Linked DNA regions of Homo sapiens: regions 1, 2, 3, 4 and 5 are each linked to region 6. The links are contacts of gene promoters, found by promoter capture Hi-C in blood cells and fetal thymus (Javierre and others, 2016). All regions are on one chromosome and are shown on one strand. Each heading gives the region's core, a stretch centred on a gene start or on the middle of the fragment in contact. The rest is flanking DNA. Distances are from core to core; before and after follow the strand shown.

Evidence for each region. Contacts are between HindIII fragments. The CHiCAGO score rates a contact against its expected background, and 5 or more counts as called.
Region 1: a fragment that was not itself captured here is called in contact with the fragment with the promoter of TP53TG1 in region 6 in 1 of 17 cell types (total CD8 T cells); the score reaches 6.0 in total CD8 T cells.
Region 2: a fragment that was not itself captured here is called in contact with the fragment with the promoter of TP53TG1 in region 6 in 1 of 17 cell types (non-activated CD4 T cells); the score reaches 5.6 in non-activated CD4 T cells.
Region 3: a contact is called between a fragment that was not itself captured here and the fragment with the promoter of TP53TG1 in region 6, in 3 of 17 cell types (neutrophils, endothelial precursors and naive CD4 T cells). The highest score is 7.7, in neutrophils.
Region 4: a contact is called between a fragment that was not itself captured here and the fragment with the promoter of TP53TG1 in region 6, in 3 of 17 cell types (neutrophils, monocytes and activated CD4 T cells). The highest score is 7.3, in neutrophils.
Region 5: a fragment that was not itself captured here is called in contact with the fragment with the promoter of TP53TG1 in region 6 in 1 of 17 cell types (non-activated CD4 T cells); the score reaches 5.8 in non-activated CD4 T cells.

The regions. Positions count from the first base shown.
Region 1 is chr7:88,205,164-88,208,320 of GRCh38, forward strand. It overlaps SRI (sorcin), which reads right to left. Exons shown (of 8, transcript NM_003130.4): 8 at 1-1,341. The coding sequence ends at 1,315. Among named protein-coding and RNA genes, the nearest start is that of SRI-AS1, 9.9 kb to the right of the region's middle. The HindIII fragment of the contact is 1,518 bases long and covers 707-2,224 here.
Region 2 is chr7:87,917,606-87,920,783 of GRCh38, forward strand. All of the region lies in intron 1 of LOC124901690 (a long non-coding RNA gene), which reads right to left. Among named protein-coding and RNA genes, the nearest start is that of ADAM22, 15 kb to the right of the region's middle. The HindIII fragment of the contact is 2,254 bases long and covers 142-2,395 here.
Region 3 is chr7:87,895,966-87,899,204 of GRCh38, forward strand. It overlaps DBF4 (DBF4-CDC7 kinase regulatory subunit), which reads left to right. Exons shown (of 12, transcript NM_006716.4): 7 at 509-545; 8 at 1,329-1,374. Among named protein-coding and RNA genes, the nearest start is that of DBF4, 21 kb to the left of the region's middle. The HindIII fragment of the contact is 3,367 bases long and covers 1-3,184 here.
Region 4 is chr7:87,856,518-87,859,692 of GRCh38, forward strand. It overlaps SLC25A40 (solute carrier family 25 member 40), which reads right to left. Exons shown (of 12, transcript NM_018843.4): 3 at 2,114-2,234. The coding sequence starts at 2,210. Among named protein-coding and RNA genes, the nearest start is that of SLC25A40, 18 kb to the right of the region's middle. The HindIII fragment of the contact is 3,788 bases long and covers 1-3,175 here.
Region 5 is chr7:87,936,070-87,939,003 of GRCh38, forward strand. The region is part of intron 2 of ADAM22 (ADAM metallopeptidase domain 22); the gene reads left to right. Among named protein-coding and RNA genes, the nearest start is that of ADAM22, 3.3 kb to the left of the region's middle. The HindIII fragment of the contact is 2,286 bases long and covers 237-2,522 here.
Region 6 is chr7:87,343,968-87,346,796 of GRCh38, forward strand. It overlaps TP53TG1 (TP53 target 1), which reads right to left and starts at 1,525. Exons shown (of 3, transcript NR_015381.1): 1 at 1,076-1,525. It overlaps CROT (carnitine O-octanoyltransferase), which reads left to right and starts at 1,697. Exons shown (of 18, transcript NM_021151.4): 1 at 1,697-1,800; 2 at 2,373-2,463. RefSeq lists a silencer at 1,513-1,722. The HindIII fragment of the contact is 3,653 bases long and covers 1-2,349 here.

The DNA.
Region 1 (3,157 bases), core at 216-2,715, 860 kb after region 6:
TTGAATGGTAAGTTTCACACTGCATCCTAAAATAAGACAGATACTCTGCTGGCAAGTAGAAAATAGACTAATTTCATTTTTTATCTGTTAAGCTCTCTTGATAAAAAAGGCAAACCAGGCCAGTTTTAAATTTAAGAAACAGAAACATTGTCAGTGCTTCTTGTATCAACACACTTCATATTCAGAACTACTCCCAAGAGATAACATATTATCTCCTTTTCAAAGATGGGGAAACTGAAACTGGGCATTATCTATAATGACCAAACCACATAGTAAGAGGCACAAGCCAGCATTAGAATTCAGATCTTACTTGAAAGTGTACAGCTTAAAATTTTTTAAAAAATTCCTTCCATTATAAATGTAGTACCTGCTTACTGGAGAATGTTTGGAAAAGCAGTAAGAAGGAAGAAGATGAACTCATGATCCTGACTCCCAGTGGTAGCCAGATCAATGTTTTGGTACATACTTTCCGATACTCTGCTATGTGTATTTTTTAAAGTGTGAATACATGGTATATCAAAATGGATGTATCAGTATTTTAAAAACTAAAATCTGATTTTAAAAGGAAAGCATATAGAAAATCTGAAAAATACTGATATAAAGAAAATTAAAGTCATCTAGAATTCCATTCATCCAAAATAAACATTGTTAATATTTCCATATATTCCCTTAGTCTTTTTCTATCAATTTTCTTTTTATATAGTTAAGCTTATAATGTACAAGATTTTTAAGGAGAGTTAACAAAGGTTTAAATAGATGACAAAAAGGGACTTGGTGACAGATAGTATTTGCCAATCAAATTATTCAACAGGTTTTGAAGGGCGTGTGCTAAACTTCTAAGGTGAATCCTGACGTGGATTACTGGATTACCTTTTTTGTTGTTTTATTTCACCCAAGTGCGTCTATGTCATTTACCTAAGTTTTTATGTGTGGAGTATTCTTTGTAGGAGAGGAAAGATAACAGCTGTAGTCTGATTAACAGTTTTTAGTGTCTCACAATGAAAAATAAATAATGTGACTTAAACATTTTGCATACTTAAATTTACATAGAGTTTTAGCAAGAAAATAAGGCATGACTGATAATGGCTCAGGAAAGTTCTAAATGGTGTAACAGACTAGATCTTATTAAAGTTCCAAAGAATTTATTATCAAAACTAAAACAAAACTTCAGTTGTACATAAAGTAATAAACTTTACAACAGCTGTTAAGAGAAAGTCGTGATGTAAGTTTATACATATTACCGAAGGCAAAGAGGACAAGCAAAGGAGAGCTCCAGTTGGAATGTTGATTACATTCATGCAGCTTCCTCTTGATTTAAACACTCATGACACATTGAATGAACTGAAAGAAAAATCAGCATTATATGACAGACCTCAAAGCACTTATACGGCACAGCCTATTTCTGGCAGCTTACATTTGGTTTTCTAATTTGAACACGGGTAAAACAACCCCTACAACTTTCTAAGATATGAGTAAATGATAGATGGAAAAGTTTCCTTTTTTTAGGGAAGCAGTCTAATATAAAATCCACAGGGTTTCTCACATCAAAACTTCTTAGAGAAAGCAGATATAACTTCAATGGATAAATAATTTAAATAATTATTTGAATAATTATTTAAATTCCAAATAATATCCAAGACTAGAAATGGCCGTGGTCAAAGACACTTACCACAAACACAAACAACTGGAGTTTATACTGTTGTATTACGTGGGGATTTCCAAACCACACAGTATTACCCCATTACTCTAATGGAACACCTTAAACAGTTTATTGCCTTAAAATCTGCTTTATTAAAACAAATTGTAGCATGCAAGTGTATGTATGCACAGAAACAGAACAGCTAACCCTTCAGATACCTGAGATTAGAAATACCAGTATTTGCTGTGAAATGTTGGCTTCCCCGCTAAACATAAAGCAATAGATTCTGCTCTATCAGTGTTCCCTACACTACTAAGGTATTGTGCACTGCTAACCCTTGCAGCTCTATTGCAAGGTCAAGGTGATTATCCCTATTTTAGAGAAAAGGAAAATAAGGATCAGGATGTTTAGAAATCTTTTAAGTAGCCCCATCTGAAGTCAAAGCCCATGGTCTTTCTTTCCATTCCCCAGGCAGCCTTCTGATCTTTAGAAACAGCAAGGGGACTGTCAACTAAGAAGTTAACGCATGTTAAAGAGAACACACCCTTAAGCAGGTAAAATAAGCATATTCACACACACATACTAAGCTTTTAAAAGTGTACTTATAACTGCAGCAGCTGCTAAACCAAAAATACATGCATCTTATATTTTGTAATGGAGAATGGAATATTCAGTGATTACAGTCATTTCAATTCTACAAGTTTTTTTGTTTGTTTGTTTTTTGTTTTTAAATCAATGGCTGAGCAAAAACTGAAGAAACAAGTAACCAATCTCTCTAGCTTTGTTATATACATCCAGCTAATGCCATCAAAGATGGCACTAGGTTATGTTCACACTGATTACATGGCCTTACCCTACCCTTGTTTAGTTTGGCTGTTTAGTAAATAACTTGTTTTAAATTGTGATTTAGCCGGGAGCAGTGGCTCACGCCTGTAATCCCAGCACTTTGGGAGGCCTAAGCGGACAGATCACAAGGACAGGAGATCGAGACCATCCTGGCTAACACAGTGAAACCCCGTCTCTACTAAAAATACAAAAAAACTTAACCAGGTATGGTGGCACATGCCTATAGTCCCTCAGGAGGCTGAGGCAGGAGAATCGCTAGAACCCGAGACGTGGAGGTTGCAGTGAGCTGACATTGCGCCACTGCACTCCAACCTGGGCAACAGAGCGAGACTCCATCTCAAAAAAAAAAAAAAAATTGTGATTTAAGTTGTTGCCTGCCTTATGCCCTCAATGAAGAACATAGGTATGCAAAACTATTGAGCTGTTATCTATTCTCAGTGACTGACATGATTTGTTTACAGAAGACAAAAGCAGATAGTATATCTGCATAGTGTTTTTCAAGGGCATTTCTAATAGAAATCTTACAATGGCTCAGTGAAAAAGGCATTACTACTATATCTTCTTTATTCATATAGTGTCACAGCAATTAAGAAACCTGCTTAAGTGACCCAGCTAATAAATACAACAAGCTGGGTCTTGAACCCAGGTCTCTGAATGCAAATCAAATCATGG
Region 2 (3,178 bases), core at 19-2,518, 570 kb after region 6:
CTCAAACTCCTGACCTCAAGTGATCTTCCTGTTTCAGCCTCCCAAAGTGCTGGTATTACAGGCATGAACCACTGTGCCCGGCCTGATTCAATTTATTTAATAGACATAGGCCTATTTCGATTATCTATTTCTCCTTGTGTAAGCTTTGGTATAGTATGTCTTTCAAGGAATCAGTCCATTTCAGCTAGGTTATCAAATTTGGAGACTTAATGTTGTTTATGATAGTTCTTTATTATCCTTTTAAAGTCAATGGGATCAATAGTCATAGCTTGTCTTTCATTTCTGATATTAATAATTTGTGTCTTCTCTTTCTTTTCTTTGTTGACGTGGCTGGAAGTTTGGCAATTTTATTGATATTTTCCAAAACTAGTTGTTGGTTTTATTGATTTTCTCTTTTGATTTCCTATTTTCAATTTAATTGATTTCTGTTCTAATTTTGGTTATTTTTTTCTGCTGCTTACTTGGAATTTAATTTGCCCTTCTTTTTCTAGTTCCCTAAGGTAAACACATATTATTTATTTTAAATATTTATTGTTTTCTAATATATGCATTCAATGCTATACATTTCCCTCTAAGTACTCACTGCACCTCCAAAATTCTGGTAAGTTGTATTTTCATTTTGATTTAGTTCAAAATATTTTAACATTTCTCTTGAGATTTCTTCTCTAACCCATATGTTAATTAAAAGTGTGTTGATAATATCCAAGTATTTTTGAGGTTTTCCAGCTATCATTCTGTTATTGATTTGTAGTTTAATTCAATTGTATAGAAATACAGCCATGTGCCGCATAATGATGTTTCACTCAATGATGAACCACATATATGATGGTAATCCCATAAAATTATAATAGAGCTGAAAAATTCCTATCATCTACTGACATCATAGCTGCCATAATTTTGTAGCACAATTACTTAAATTTTTAATGTTTAGTGCAGCCTAAGTGTACAGTGTTTATAAAGTCTACAGTAGTACATAATAATGTCCTAGGCCTTCACATTCACTCACCACTCACTCACTGACTCACCCAGAGCAACTTTGAGTCCTGTAACCTCCATTCATAGTAAGTACCCTATATAGGTGTACCATTTTTTATCTTTCACATTGTATTTTTACTGTACCATTTCTATGTTTAGATACATAAATATTTACCAATGTATTATAACTGCCTACAGTATTCAGTACAATAACATGATAAACAGGTTTACAGCCTAGGAGCAATAGGCTATACCATGTAGCCTAGGTGTGTAGTAGGCTATACCATCTAGGTTTGTGTAAGTACACTCTATGATATTGTTACATTAATGATGTTGCCTAAGGGTATATTCCTCAGAATGTATCCCCATCATTAAGCAATGCATGACAAGAGATAAAGATCTATACATGAAATAGGCAAGACGTGGCCTGTAGGACACTACTTCAAACATACTCCAAGGAAACTATTTCCCTATTCTCAACCCCCACCCCCACACACATCTCAGAGAAACTGTATTTCCTTTAAACATGTTATCTTTTCAGCATCTTTGCTTTTTACCATTATCATATCTTAGTATATTTATGGATTGCTGCTAGTTCTTAGCAATACAGAAAATAAAAAGTATCTTTTATGTGCAAGATTATACTTAAAAACTTATTTGTTACAAACATAATTTAATTTGTTTTGCTGGCTTAGAAATTATAAAGGCCATAACATTTTAGCTTTTTATACAAACACATTTATATGCATTCATTCTTTCTGGCCAGAATATACATTCATATTTCAAATAGGATTTTTTTAAGTTTCTAAGAACATTTTTTAAACAATGAAAACTTCATATTTTCAGGAGAAGGAAGAGACTCAGTGACATTAATTAGGGAAGAACATTAACCTTCAGCCTCTTATATTGCAATTTCATTTTTGAATTGCCCAACTGATGCCACTGCAAATTCTGCGAGACAGGCAAAAAACTGAGTTCCCAAAGTGTGAGAGGGGAAAACCTGCCTCCGAACACATATCCCTACTGGCGAATATGAAAATCCAGATTACGGAAGAAAGATTTAACCTTATCTAGAGCTGAAACACATTTAGAGAGCTGTGTAAAATATAAAAGTAGAAGCAGCAGCAAGAGCCTTATAGGCACACCCAGTCTCCAGCTTGAGCCCACGGAAACTATCCCTAACTGGATTTTGCAGGGGCCCTCAGGCAAGGAAGACAGCAAAATTAGGGAGGGGTCATAGGGTGAAAGATGCTTCCAGTGAAATTCTGTAATAATTTCAAATGGGTATGAACTATCTTGAACAGAATCCGGGGGGTGAATGGGGAACTGCTGCAGATACAAGTGCAGGAGGCTTCACCAACATTGTGAGCAGACGGAGAGGAGCAAGGCCTAAAAGTCAAGTTTGCTTTCTCACCTGGGAAGCTTACAGCATGGGGAAAGGGCTGAGTTCCATGCACAGGCTTCCTGCATCTAACTAAACTTGGCCCTGTTAGCAGGACACCGCAGAGGCAAGACCAGCCTTGCCAACAACGTGAGAGTTGGGTGAGGTCTTTTGCTACTGGCTATCCCCTACTTCCCTGGTGAACCATATGGCACAGCCGAGGCAGCCATAATCTCCTCTGGAACATAACCCCATCGGTCTGAGAACCACACCCCCATCCCCACAGTGGCCATGGCAAGCACCACCTAAGGAGAGTCTGAGCTCAGACCCGCCTAACCCTGCCTCCACCTGATGATATTTCTCTACCTGCCCTGGTAGCCACACACAAAAGACAAAAACTTGTGGAAGCTTTATGGCCCTGCCCATTGCCAGAGAAACCAGAACACTTACCCTGGTCAACTTACGGCAAGCTTATATTCCCCTACAACTACCGCAGCTGGTGCTCTCTTGAAAGCATCACCTCTTGGTTGGAGGCCAATCAACTCAGGCCATTACAGCAACTCATGACAAAATAACCCTGCTCCCAAGAAGGAGAACACAACAGCTAATACCACTGCCTGAAACATCCTGGCTAACCAGAGGTCCTGAGTCCATCCACGTGACAACTTTACTACTAGAATAACCAGCATTCAAGAAAGCCAGTACACTAAACATACCTACAGCCAAAGATTCTCACAGAGTCACTTTCACTCCCCGCCACCTCCACCAGAGTAGGTGCTGATATCCACAGCTGGGAGAGCCAAAGATGGATGACATCACAGG
Region 3 (3,239 bases), core at 251-2,750, 550 kb after region 6:
CCATGACTGAAGGTTCCAGTTTTGACTTCCTTCCACAATCTGCCTGCTTATTTTACTTTTCATTCTTCAGGTAGTTGCTTATTCAGTGTTGTCCAGAGTTTCTAGTTGTAATCAGTGGAGTTGATTATCCATCTTTAACATATTGAATCTTTGCCTAAATTGACTGACTAATAAATGTTGACTAATTTCTTTATTCAATTTAATACAAAGATTTTGCTGAATAAGGGCATAAAAATAATATGACTTTTAAAAAAACATTTCATTAACTACCTTTTCATTATTGGTTTTCTTTTTATGAAGTCAAAATCAATTATAGCTAGAATGCAAGGTACTTGCTGAGTGTATTGTAAAACATTTAAAAACAATAGTTTTTTTTAACAAAGAATAATCCTTCTTTGATATAGCACTTTTCTGCATGATTTTTTTATCTTGAAGATACTGAGCAATTGCAGTTGCTGTTTTAACTGTACTTTCAAAGCCAATCTTTTCACTATATATTTTTTTTTAGGGCAAAAGAGTTGGTAGTGGTGCACAAAAAACAAGAAGTAAGTATTTTGTGATCTTTAAGTGTATTTGGTTTGCATTTGAAAAATCATAAAAGATCTTCTAAAATCATATAAACCACCCTCTAAATGATTTATTCAAGGCTTTCTTCGTCTTTATAGAACATAGATCCTTGGTGAAGTTTGGTGAAGCCTGTGGACCGCATTTTCAGAATGATGTTTTTTTTAAAACGTTTCCTTTAAAAATCATTAGTCTACCAAGAAAATGAATTATATTAAAATGTAGTTACCAAAATAGTTTTTAATTGTGAAATAGTGATAACTTGCTTTTTATTACACAGAACAGATTCTAGCAGTGAATCTAATTGCCACTTCATTTTGAATTGATAAGCGTAAACAATGCTTTGAGATATCTGCTCAAGCAGTTCATAACTGATGAAAATATGTGCAGTTTCTATTAGCATCAAAGTCGCAGGTACTGCGAATAGTGTGATTTGTTACATTTATAATTGAAGGAAATGCTAAATTTCAGTTTGAGGTTAGTGAAGACAATAGTGTAGTTTTTCTCCTGTTCTAATTTATGACCTTCCTGAATCCTGTTAATTTGAGGGTTCCATTTAGTTTAAGAATCTCAGAATATAGGAGAGAGCTTCTGTTATTTTTGGAAATGAGGTGATAATGGAAGTACCTCATCTGAGGCTTAAAACTTTAAAGTGGATACATAGTTTTTTGTTTGGAGGGTTTTGTTTTGCCACAGTAGTTTTATTAAAAAAAAAAAAGAATCCTGAATTTGCAAGTATCTAATATGTTTTCTATGTTCTCAAGCAGGAAGACTCAAAAAGCCTTTTGTAAAGGTGGAAGATATGAGCCAGTAAGTATTTAAGTCCAATCTGTATGATTTAAGTGCAATACTAAAGAGGAAAATCACCTAACTAATTAGGCTAGCTCGATTAGTACTGTTAGGTTCCTTTGTGTTTGATTTATATTATACTAATGTGCATGCGGCACAAGTTAACGAAAGTAGCATTAATTCATTTGTGCTCAAGGACTGAATTTAGTTTCAGTATGTTGTAGATATTCCTGAAATAGCTGGTTTAGAAAAATCATGACACCGTTTTTTTAGTATTTAAATTATTCTCTGGCTAAATGCAGTACCAAATGATTTAGAACTACTGAAAGATTACGCCTTCATTTGCGAAAAAGAAATTATTAGATGCTATTTAGAAACAGAAAATCTAAGTATAACATCTAACATGGTTGATTTCCAAAATTCTGAAGTATTGTAGGATAGTCTTGTTGTTGTTGTTGTTTGTTTTGATTTTTTGAGATGGAGTCTTGCTCTGTCACCCAGGCTAGAGTGCAGTGGCACGATCTCGGCTCACTGCAACGTCCACCCCACCCCCGGTTCAAGCAATTCTCCTGCCTCAGCCTCCCAAGTAGCTGGGATTATGGGTCTACGCCACCATGCCCAGCTGATGTTTGTATTTTTAGTAGAGATGGGGTTTCACCATGTTGGCCAGGCTAGTCTCTAACTCTTGACCTCAAGTGATCCGCCTGCCTCAGCCTCCCAAAGTGCGGGGATTACAGGCGTGAGCCACTGTGCCCAGCCATGTGGGATAATCTTAATGAAGACCACAGATATAAATAGGCCTGCCATGAGAGAATTAGATTACTTTCTTTTTTCTTTCCACTTATTCATTTAGACATCTGTGGTTAATTCTCTTGGGTACTCACACTGAGGCGACAAAAGTGTATTGAAAACTGCTTTTTATGAAATGTGTTGCTGTGAAGAAAAAAGTGCAATTCAAAAGGAGGCCTAGAAAAGACACTAGTATACGAAAGGACATCCCATGTTCATGAATTGGAAGATATAATATTGTTAAGATGTTAATACCACCCAAAGTGATCTACAGATTCACTGCAATCCCTATCAAAATCCCAATGATGTTTTTTGCAGAAATAGTAAAAACGTATCCTAGAATTCATACGGAATTGTAACAGATGCAGGAAACCCAAGACAATCATTAAAAATAACAACAAAGGCCAGGCGCGGTGGCTCACTCCTGTAATCCTAGCACTTTGGGAGGCCGAGGCAGGCAGATCACGAGTTCAGGAGATGGAGACCATCCTGGCTAATACGGTGAAACCCTGTCTCTACTAAAAATATAAAAAATTAGCCGGGCCTGGTGGCGGGCACCTGTAGTCCCAGCTACTCAGGAGGCTGAGGCAGGAGAATGGCGTGAACCCGGGAGGCAGAGCTTGCAGTGAGCCGAGATCACGCCACTACACTTCAGCCTGGGGGACAGAGCAAGACTCCGTCTCAAAAAAAAAAAAAAAAAAGAACAACAAAGTAAGAGGTCTCACACTTTCTGGTTTTAAAACTTACTGTAATGCTACAGAAATCAGAACAATTTGGCATTGGAATAAAGACATATAAACGAATGGAATAGAATAGAGAGCCTAGAAATAAACCATCACACATATGGCCAAATGATTTTCAACAAGGGTATGAAGATAATTTAATGGAGAAAGGACAGTCTTTTTTAACAGTGTTGAGAAAACTAGATATACACATGCAAAAGAATGGCATTAGACTCCTACCTCACATCATGTTCAAAAATTAACTCAAAATGGACCAAAGACCTAAAATGGTAAAACTCTTGGAGAGAACACAGGGGAAAAGCTTCATGACATTGGATTTGCAGTGCTTTCCTGGACGTGACACCAAAAACACAG
Region 4 (3,175 bases), core at 595-3,094, 510 kb after region 6:
CCTTAAATTTTGTTAATCAGTGAAAGACAGACGAATTACTTCTCTCATGAGTACTAAACTGTTATTTGTAATATTCCTACAACTATCATTACATTAGCATTAAAGTCAGTATTTATAAGAAAATATGATTTCTAATATAAGAAGTAAAAGTTCCAAAAGACTTTGAGAATAACTTTCTATAAGTAATCAATAGCCAAATGATATTAGTCTTCCCAATCTGTTAAATTTACCTGTATCAAATAAGAGGTACAGATAATAAAAATTTGAGTAAACTAGTCATAAAACATCTTTAGCACTAAGTTATGTTATTCCATTTGGGCATAGCACAGCAAAGGAAAATAGTTTTAATATGCATGCTATATTTTATCCAAGTAGAAACAAATGCCAAATAATGTTTCTAAGAAAACTTTTCCTCATCTTGAGAATGATGATAATTATATTAGATGATCTCTATGACCTTTATAACTCAAATTCTGACCTGAAAATACATCATAAGCAATTAATTTATTTGTTCTAATCATTTGTTATTTACATAAACTAGCCAACTTAAAAATCATTAAAATGCTAAACTATCACCTAACTGTGTCATTTGGCTACATCTACAAGAAGCTGACTGTAAGAAACAGAAAACTGTGAACCAGAGAAATTTAAGAAATTCCGTTAATGCAAAGTAAAGATTATTTGTAATTGTTACGAACATAAATTGTGAAAATTCTGTATTATTCATTATGCTAATATTTTATTCCATCTTCTTGCTTTCTATTATAGACATGGGGAATCAGAAAAGTTTAATGTTGATAGGGACCCAAAAGAAATCCCAGTTATAAGCCCCTAATTTACAGATGAAATAATGAAGTTCAAATAAAAGTTAGATACTGTTCCCAAGTGTATTCACCGTGAGAATGGCAAAGCAAGGACTCAAGTCTCTTGAATCTCTGTCCAGGGTTGTTTTCATATAATAATATGATGAAACATTCATGGATCATAAATGATAGTATGTGTTGCAGGAAGTCAGGGATCCTGAATGGAGGGACCAGGTGGAGCCGCAGCAAAGGAACATAAATTCTGAAGATTTCATGGACATTTACCAGTTCCCAAATAATACTTTCATAATTTCTTACCCCTGTCTTACTTTAATCTCTTAATCCTGTTATTTTTATAAGCTAAGGATGTACATCACATCAGGGCCACTATGATAATTGTGATAACTGTACAAATTGATTGTAAAACATGTATGTTTGAACAATATGAAATAAGTGCACCTTGAAAAAGAACAGAATAACAGCGATTTTAGGGAACAAGGGAAGACAACCATAAGGTCTGACTGCCCGCAGGGTCGGGCAAAATAGAGCCATATTTTTCTTCTTGCAGATAGCCTATAAACGGACATGCAAGTAGGGAAGATATTGCTAAATTATTTTCCTAGCAAGGAATATTAATAATTCATACCCTGGGGAAGGAATGCATTCCTGGTGGGAGGTCTATACATGGCCACTCTGGGAGTGTCTGTCTTATGCCGTTGAGATAAAGACTGAAATACGCCCTGGTCTCCTGCAGTACCCTCAGGCTTACTAGGATTGGGCAACTCCACCCTGGTAAATTTGAGGTCAGACTGGATCTCTGCTCTCAAACCCTCTTTTCTGTTGTTTAAGATGTTTATCAAGACAAAACGTGCACTGCTGAACATAGACCCTTATCAGTAATTCTGCTTTTGCCCTTTGCCTTGTGATCTTTGCTGGACCCTTATCAGGAGTCTGTGATTTTGCCCTTGTCCTGTTTCCTCAGAAGCATGTGATTTTTGTTCTCCTTTTTACCCTTTGAAGCATGTGATCTTGTGACCTTACTCCCTGTTCTTACACCCCCTCCCCTTTTGAAATCCTTAATAAAACTTGCTAGTTTTGCAGCTCAGGTGGGCAATCACGGTCCTACCAATATGTGATGTCACCCCCGGAGGCCCAGCTGTAAAATTCCTCTCTTTGTACTCTTTATTTCTCAGCCAGCCAATACTTATGGAAAATAGAAAGAAACTACGTTGAAATACTGATACTAAAACTCAAATGGAAGCACTGACTCATTCAAAGTTACATAATCTACATCAGTAACATAATTTTACCTATTACTGATGTCAGTATAGCTCCAGTACATGAGGCAAGCATTTGTTGAAGAGGTGTCACTTTGATAATCTCTTGTCCCCTTGTCTCAGGATCCATATTTTTAACTAATTAAATAAAAACCTGTTAAAAAGAAAACATAAAATTAGAGCACATCCTCTGATCTTTCAAAAATGATAACATCCTTCAGCTAAGCTGGGTGAGCAGCATCACATTAGTAAGACAACTAAGAGAGAATTAACCAAACAGATACTGACAGAATGAAAGCAGGTGACCACTAAGTCTGAGTCTGTGAACTCAGCCTCATACACACTACTAAAAAAACCTCCCCAATAGAGTACAGAGGTATCAGCAAATACAGCCCTTTATTGTATACCAGTAGTTGTTGTACAGATGTAAAATAAAAACACATAACCTTAATAAGTTTTATCTTACAAAAATTTGATGAGAAAAGCAACATAAAAACATAAAAAGTTTTAAAAAGTCAGATAATACAGAACAGTATAAAAATAACTTATGAACTTACTATTCAAAAATAATCACCGGCCAGGCGTGGTGGCTCACACCTGTAACCCCAGCACTTTTGGAGGCCGAGGCGGGCGCATCATGAGGTCGGGAGATCGAGACCAACCTGGCTAACATGGTGAAATCCTGTCTCAACTAAAAATACAAAAAATTAGCCAGGTGTCTGTAGTCCCAGCTACTCGGGAGGCTGAGGCAGGAGAATGGCGTGAACCCAGGAGGCGGAGCTTGCAGTGAGCCGAGATCGCACCACTGCACTCCAGCCTGGGCAACAGAGCAAGACTCTGTCTCAAAAAAAAATAATAATAATAATCACCAGCAACAGGAATGTCATCTTTCCAAATGTCTATGAACATACACACATACATATGTATATGTCTATACACACACATTACATCTAACCAAATATTGTATATTAATCAAACACACGTACACTTATGTGTCCGTGTACATACAGCTTTTCTGAAAAACAGGTCAATACTATTTTGCTTGTTTAGTAGGCTGCTTTAACACTTAAAAACACATTATAGACATTGTGTCAA
Region 5 (2,934 bases), core at 130-2,629, 590 kb after region 6:
TTTCACATGTATAAATATATTCATCAGTGCTTTAAGATATATCTTGATGATGTGATAATTATACTAACTTATCTGTATGTGTGAAATATGTAAAAATAGAAAATATTACTTAAATCTGTATTTGTAGCCAAGTAGTTGGTACTGTTAACATTTTGTTAATAGAAGGTGGGAAATTAGCTTAAAGGGCTACATAATATCCATCAAAGATTATTTTAGTAGAAAATCCCAATATGTTAAGCTTTTAATGATGGATTCTTTTATGTGAATTAATGGTTGGTAAATGCCTATTTTCCTTTTCCATTTTGACTCGTTTCAATGGTAAAACTGAAGAAGCAGGGGCCATAGTTTCCCTATGTCATCGTATTTTTCAATTAATTAAGATTATTTCTGTGGAAGGATATTTTCACACCATTTGCAACCTTTTATTATAAAAAATTTCAAACACAAAAGAGTAGGATAAATTAATGAACCCCCAGCTCCAACAATTAGCAACTCATGGCCAATCTTGTTTTGTCTATACCCTACGTATTTCTTTTTCTATTTCCTTTCCCTCTCTATATTGTATTGAAGCAAATCATATCATTTCATTCATAAAAATTATAGGAATTTACCACTAAACAGTAAGGATTCTTTTAAAAATGCAACCATGTTACTGTATTTTCAAAAATTAGGAGTAATTTCTTACTACTATCAAATATCCTGTTTTTCAAATTTCCAGTTCTCGTAAATATGTATGTATATATGTATATGTATGTGTGTGAATGTTTATATGTGTGTGTATATATATTATATATATATATATAGAGAGAGAGAGTATATTTAGAGTATATATTTAAGTAAGTTTGTCTGGACCAGGACCCAGATAATGTCTGTAGATTGCAATTAGTTTATTTATTTATTTTTTGTGACAGGGTCTCACTCTGTCACCCAGACAGGAGTGCAGTAGCACGATTATGGCTCACAGCAGCCTTGACCTCTTGGGCCCCAGTGATCCTTCCACCTCAGCTTCCTGAGTAGCTTGGATTACAGGCATGTGCCACCTTATCTGGCTAATTAAAAATTTGTTTTTGTAAAGATGGGATTTCACCATGTTGCGCAGGCTGGCCTTGAACTCCTGGGCTCAAATCATCTGCTGGCCTCGGCCTCCCAAAATGCTGGGATTACAGGTGTGAGTTGTGGGGGCCTAGCCTGTTTTTCTGTTTTCTAAAAGGTCTTTTAATGTGTGGTTCTTTCCCCTCTATTTCTTTTTTTTCCCCTTGCAATTTTTTCAGTGAAGACATGGAGTCTTTCATCTTGTAGAGTTGCTCAGAGTCAAGATTTTGCTGTTGTAGCCAGTGCTTTAAAACAATTCACAAAGACTTTCTAGGAGAGGAAGAGAGACTGAGGGAAGAAGAGATACAGAAAAAGAAAATGACAGGATTGAACCTGGAAACTCACAGAATCTCTGACTCATGCTGGAAATGTCTTTGGGTACCTCTTGCCTTTTCTGTGTTGGTGAAAGACCACCACTTTTGAAAAGTGGAGGAGGTCAGTCCTCCTTTTCTCCCCATTTATGGAGCACCACTTGTGCAGTTTTTTGATTCACAGGAGTCTTGACTTGGGGTGGAAAGCTATTTTGGGTTCATAGAGCTTCTACTCCCTATAGCAATAAACATCACAATAGAGAAGAATGACTGGTTTTTGGTGAAGTATGAATGAATTGGTAGGATTTAGGTTTAAAAGTATGAATAGATGATTAATTCAAGTCAGAAATGAAAGCAATGATACCATCTTATAGTAATTATTACAAAACGTTATCCCAGTGCCTGGGATATGTGTACATAGTAAGGTACACATAGTACATGTTGATGTCTCTATCACTTGGGAGCCACTGCACTTTACCATGCTGCTTAAACTACAGGTGGAAATCATTGACAACTAGGACCAAATCTGACAAAATTTTAAAGACCTGTTTATCTTAGGCCAACTTTTCCTACAGTTAGGAAACAGAGGAGTTTTCTTGCACTATTGGCATTTCTAGTTTCCCTAAGAGCAATCATTGGATTGAAAAACATAAGTTGATTTTTTATGGCCCTTGTTATTTCTCTAATACTTAAATAGTTCTAATTTATGGCATTTTAATTTTAGATACCCATAGATTTTTTTTTTTTTTTTTTTTTTTTTTTGTGAGATGGAGTCTTGCTCTGTCACCCAGGCTGGAGTGCAATGGCGTGATCTCAGCTTATTGCAACCTCCACCTCCTGGGTTCAAGCGATATTCCTGTCTCAGCCACCTGAATAACTGGGATTACAGGCACCCACCACCATGCCCAGCTAATTTTTGTATTCTTAGTAGAGACAGGGTTTCACCATTTTGGCCAGGCTGGTCTAGAACTCCTGACCTCAAGTGATCCTCCCACCTCGGCCACCCAAAGTGCTGGGATTACAAACATGAGCCACCATGCCTGGCCACCCATAGATATGTTTATCAACTTCCTTTCTACTTCATAAATAAAATCAGGGTGATTTTCTGTGAACTCAAAAAGCTTATATAGATTTGTTGATTTGTTTCTTTAAAAGGCATTTATTTATTTATTTTATTTATTTTTTTCTTTTGAGATGGAGTCTCACTCTCTTGCCCAGGCTGGATGGAGTGCAGCGGCACAATCTCAACTCATGGCAAGGTCCACCTCCCTGGTTCAAGCGATTCTCCTGCCTCAGCCTCCCAAGTAGCTGGGACTACAGGCGCGTGCCACCACACCTGGCTAATTTTTTGTATTTTTAGTAGAGACAGGGTTTCACCATGTTAGCCAGGATGGTCTCAATCTCCTGACCTTGTGATCCGCCCACCTTGGCATCCCAAAGTGCTGGGATTACAGGCGTGAACCACCGCGGCTGGCCTAAAAGGCATTTATTTATTTGTGCTCCTACTCTGTACCAATTTTTATGCAAGACT
Region 6 (2,829 bases), core at 275-2,774:
AGCCAAACATATTTTAAAATACCTGTTTTTGGTGATTTGGGGTACATATGCTTATCAGTATAACATATTTTAAAAGATTTTTTTCTACATACTCAAATCTGTGTTCCATTCATTTTTTCACTCCCACACCTTTTTGTCTATCCGATAATTCAGGAATCTTTACAGAAACATCTTGTTTCCATTGAAATAAACAACAAGAGTAGGAAAAAGAGTGAAGCGAAATGGTTCTAAATTCTATGCACCAACAGGCATTAAACATGCATAAACTTTTAAAGAGATGCCAAGACTCACTAAAAAGGAGAAAAAAAATACAACGAAGGTTTCTGAGTAGTTTTTAGTTACTCAATTTAAAAACTTTATCTTGTAAGCAAACTTTAACATCATCCAGAGCATCGCACTTATATATGAAAGAAAAAGTTCTTTATCACACCTTCAGAAATTACAACTACAAATTCCTAATCCCTTATTTAAAATCTTTTTGGCTAGATATGTTTCAAAATTCAGAACTTTTCTTAGAATAGTACGTCTGCCATATATTATGAAACACTTCCAGCAAGCTGTACTGTAATCAAACACAATATTTCTGTAGAAAACTTATGAATATTTACACAAAGGGAACATTCAGTTACACATAGCCTCACTTCCCTTCAGGTCAAACTTTACTGCTAAAGGAGTTAGAAACGACAGACAAAGGAATGGGGCCTGTCATGACATGTTAATTTGAAATCTAAATCTTTATCTTTGATAACTAGTTCAGAGTCAGTGTAAACATTTGGTCTTTCCTTCCACAAAAAAATGAAACAGTGTATTTAAAATTAAAAATGAAACAGTATATTTTATTTCAGAAGGTAAAAGCAAAATGAATTAATCTGTGAAACTAAGTCAATCACATTATGATCTTCTAGAACTTGGGTAGCTCCACTCTGGTTAAAGATTCCATTTCTTGGCACAACAGTAAAAGACATCAGATAGGCCCGGGGGTAAGCATCCCTGGGGTATTCAAATAACTTGGGTAGCAATGAAGAGCTGCAGAAGAGCAAGGAGACCCGAGATGATGTAGTGTGCTGCGGCATACCTGAGTTGGGCAAACTCAGCCTCCGAAGATTAAAGGAAAGAGCCCAAGTAGGAATCTGTGTGATCACTGTTCTTTTGCCAAGACACGGGGTGGACAATAAGATTCCTTTACAAAGCACTGGTGTAAGTGTTCGCCTGGTGCTGCAAAAAGCGGCTCACTGGGAATGGGGAGGAGCGTGTGGTAAGCCAGACCTGCGGCGAGAAGTTGGGTGAAAATGGGTCTTAACCATCGCTTCCTGCATCTATCCCAGAGGGTTGGGTACCTTCGTGGGCGGAGCGCGGCCTGCCCAGAGTGCCTTCTAGATCCTGGGTCAGGCGCCAAGCTCCCCAGCATCATGCAGGAAGCTGCAGCCCCGCAGAGTTAGGACAGCTCATTTGGCACCCGGCGAGCCCTTCCCAGGCCCGCAGCCCAGAATAGAGCCGGGGCCCAAGACGCCCACTGGAGACAGGGTCGGGTCCCACTACCGCGCAGGCCCGGCTCGCCCCCGACGTCAGGCACGGGGCGGGACCCTTGCAGCTGTCCGTCCAGTCCCGTTCCCCGGAAAGTGAGGGGCGGGACCCTCGCGGCTTTCTATCCAATCCTGTTCCCCGGCGAATGCGGGGCGGGACCCTAGCGGCCTTCAGTCCAATTCCCGCACCTTTGAGGCCCAAGGGGGAGCGAGCCGGTGCTGCTGCAGGCTGAGGCTGCGGCAGAGGCGGCGAGGCGCGGGCGGTGAGGACGGACAGGTCCGTTGAAGCAGCATTCCCTCCCTCCCCTAATCCTTCAACTCGGGGGCGGGGGAAAGTTAAGTCGTGCAGAACCGCAAAGGTGCCTGGATTTGGTGGGGGAGTAGTGTCATCAAGCATCTCGCCTGCTGGGGTCTCAGGGGTACCCTCAAGGTTGGGCCGCGGGGCTGCTCCGTTGTAGTGCTTAGATTTCTCTCACTTGATGGCCTCTTGAGTGCAGAGTTGCTCTTGGGTTGGTGGGAAGAGCCTCCGAGCTCTCATTGCCCTCTGCTCCTGCTTCTACCCCTTGCCACTCTGCGACGAACCTGTTACCCAGCCACTGAAAACGTATCCTCTACCCTTTGAACCCGTCTAATGGAAGGTGTACTTGTCTGAAACCTACTTAATTGTATGATCATTTACTCCTGCTCTCTAGCAGGTGGACTATTTGCGTGTGTTTGCAGTGATTCACGAAAAGTTTGTCTTGGGAACTCCCAACTCCTAGTTTGTCTGCATTCCACCTTCTTTCACTAGCTTGTTCATTTCTTTTTCCCTCTTAAATATTTGTTAAGCTTGTTTCTTTCTTCCCACAGTCACCGACTTAGTCCAGTTCCCTGTGATCTCAAAACAATTGTTGCAGCAGGCTCCTGGCAGTCTCAAGCAGTTCATCTTCTTGGTGTACTGGTATGTGACAATTCCTTCACGTATTGTTCGTGGTTCTTTTCCACTTTCTGTGAATTCATATCTAATTGCCCCCAGAAAGTCAATTCTAATTAAATCTAGCATAATCATTTTCTTAGTGCTATTGGAACCATCTTATTTAACTTAATCTTTGTGGTTGAGAATTCAAGAAAACTCTTCAAGAAAGAATCCAATAATTTATATTTTTAATGTGTACCGGTTGGTGGGTTAAGCACTATAGTGGGTATGTAACTAATACTCTTGCTTCCAGTTTTCTAGAGTCTATTAAGTGGCACAGAGGTAAACAGAATAGCTTATCTTCTCTGTATGTGTGTACTAGTCTTCTATTGCTGCCTTAACCAATTACAC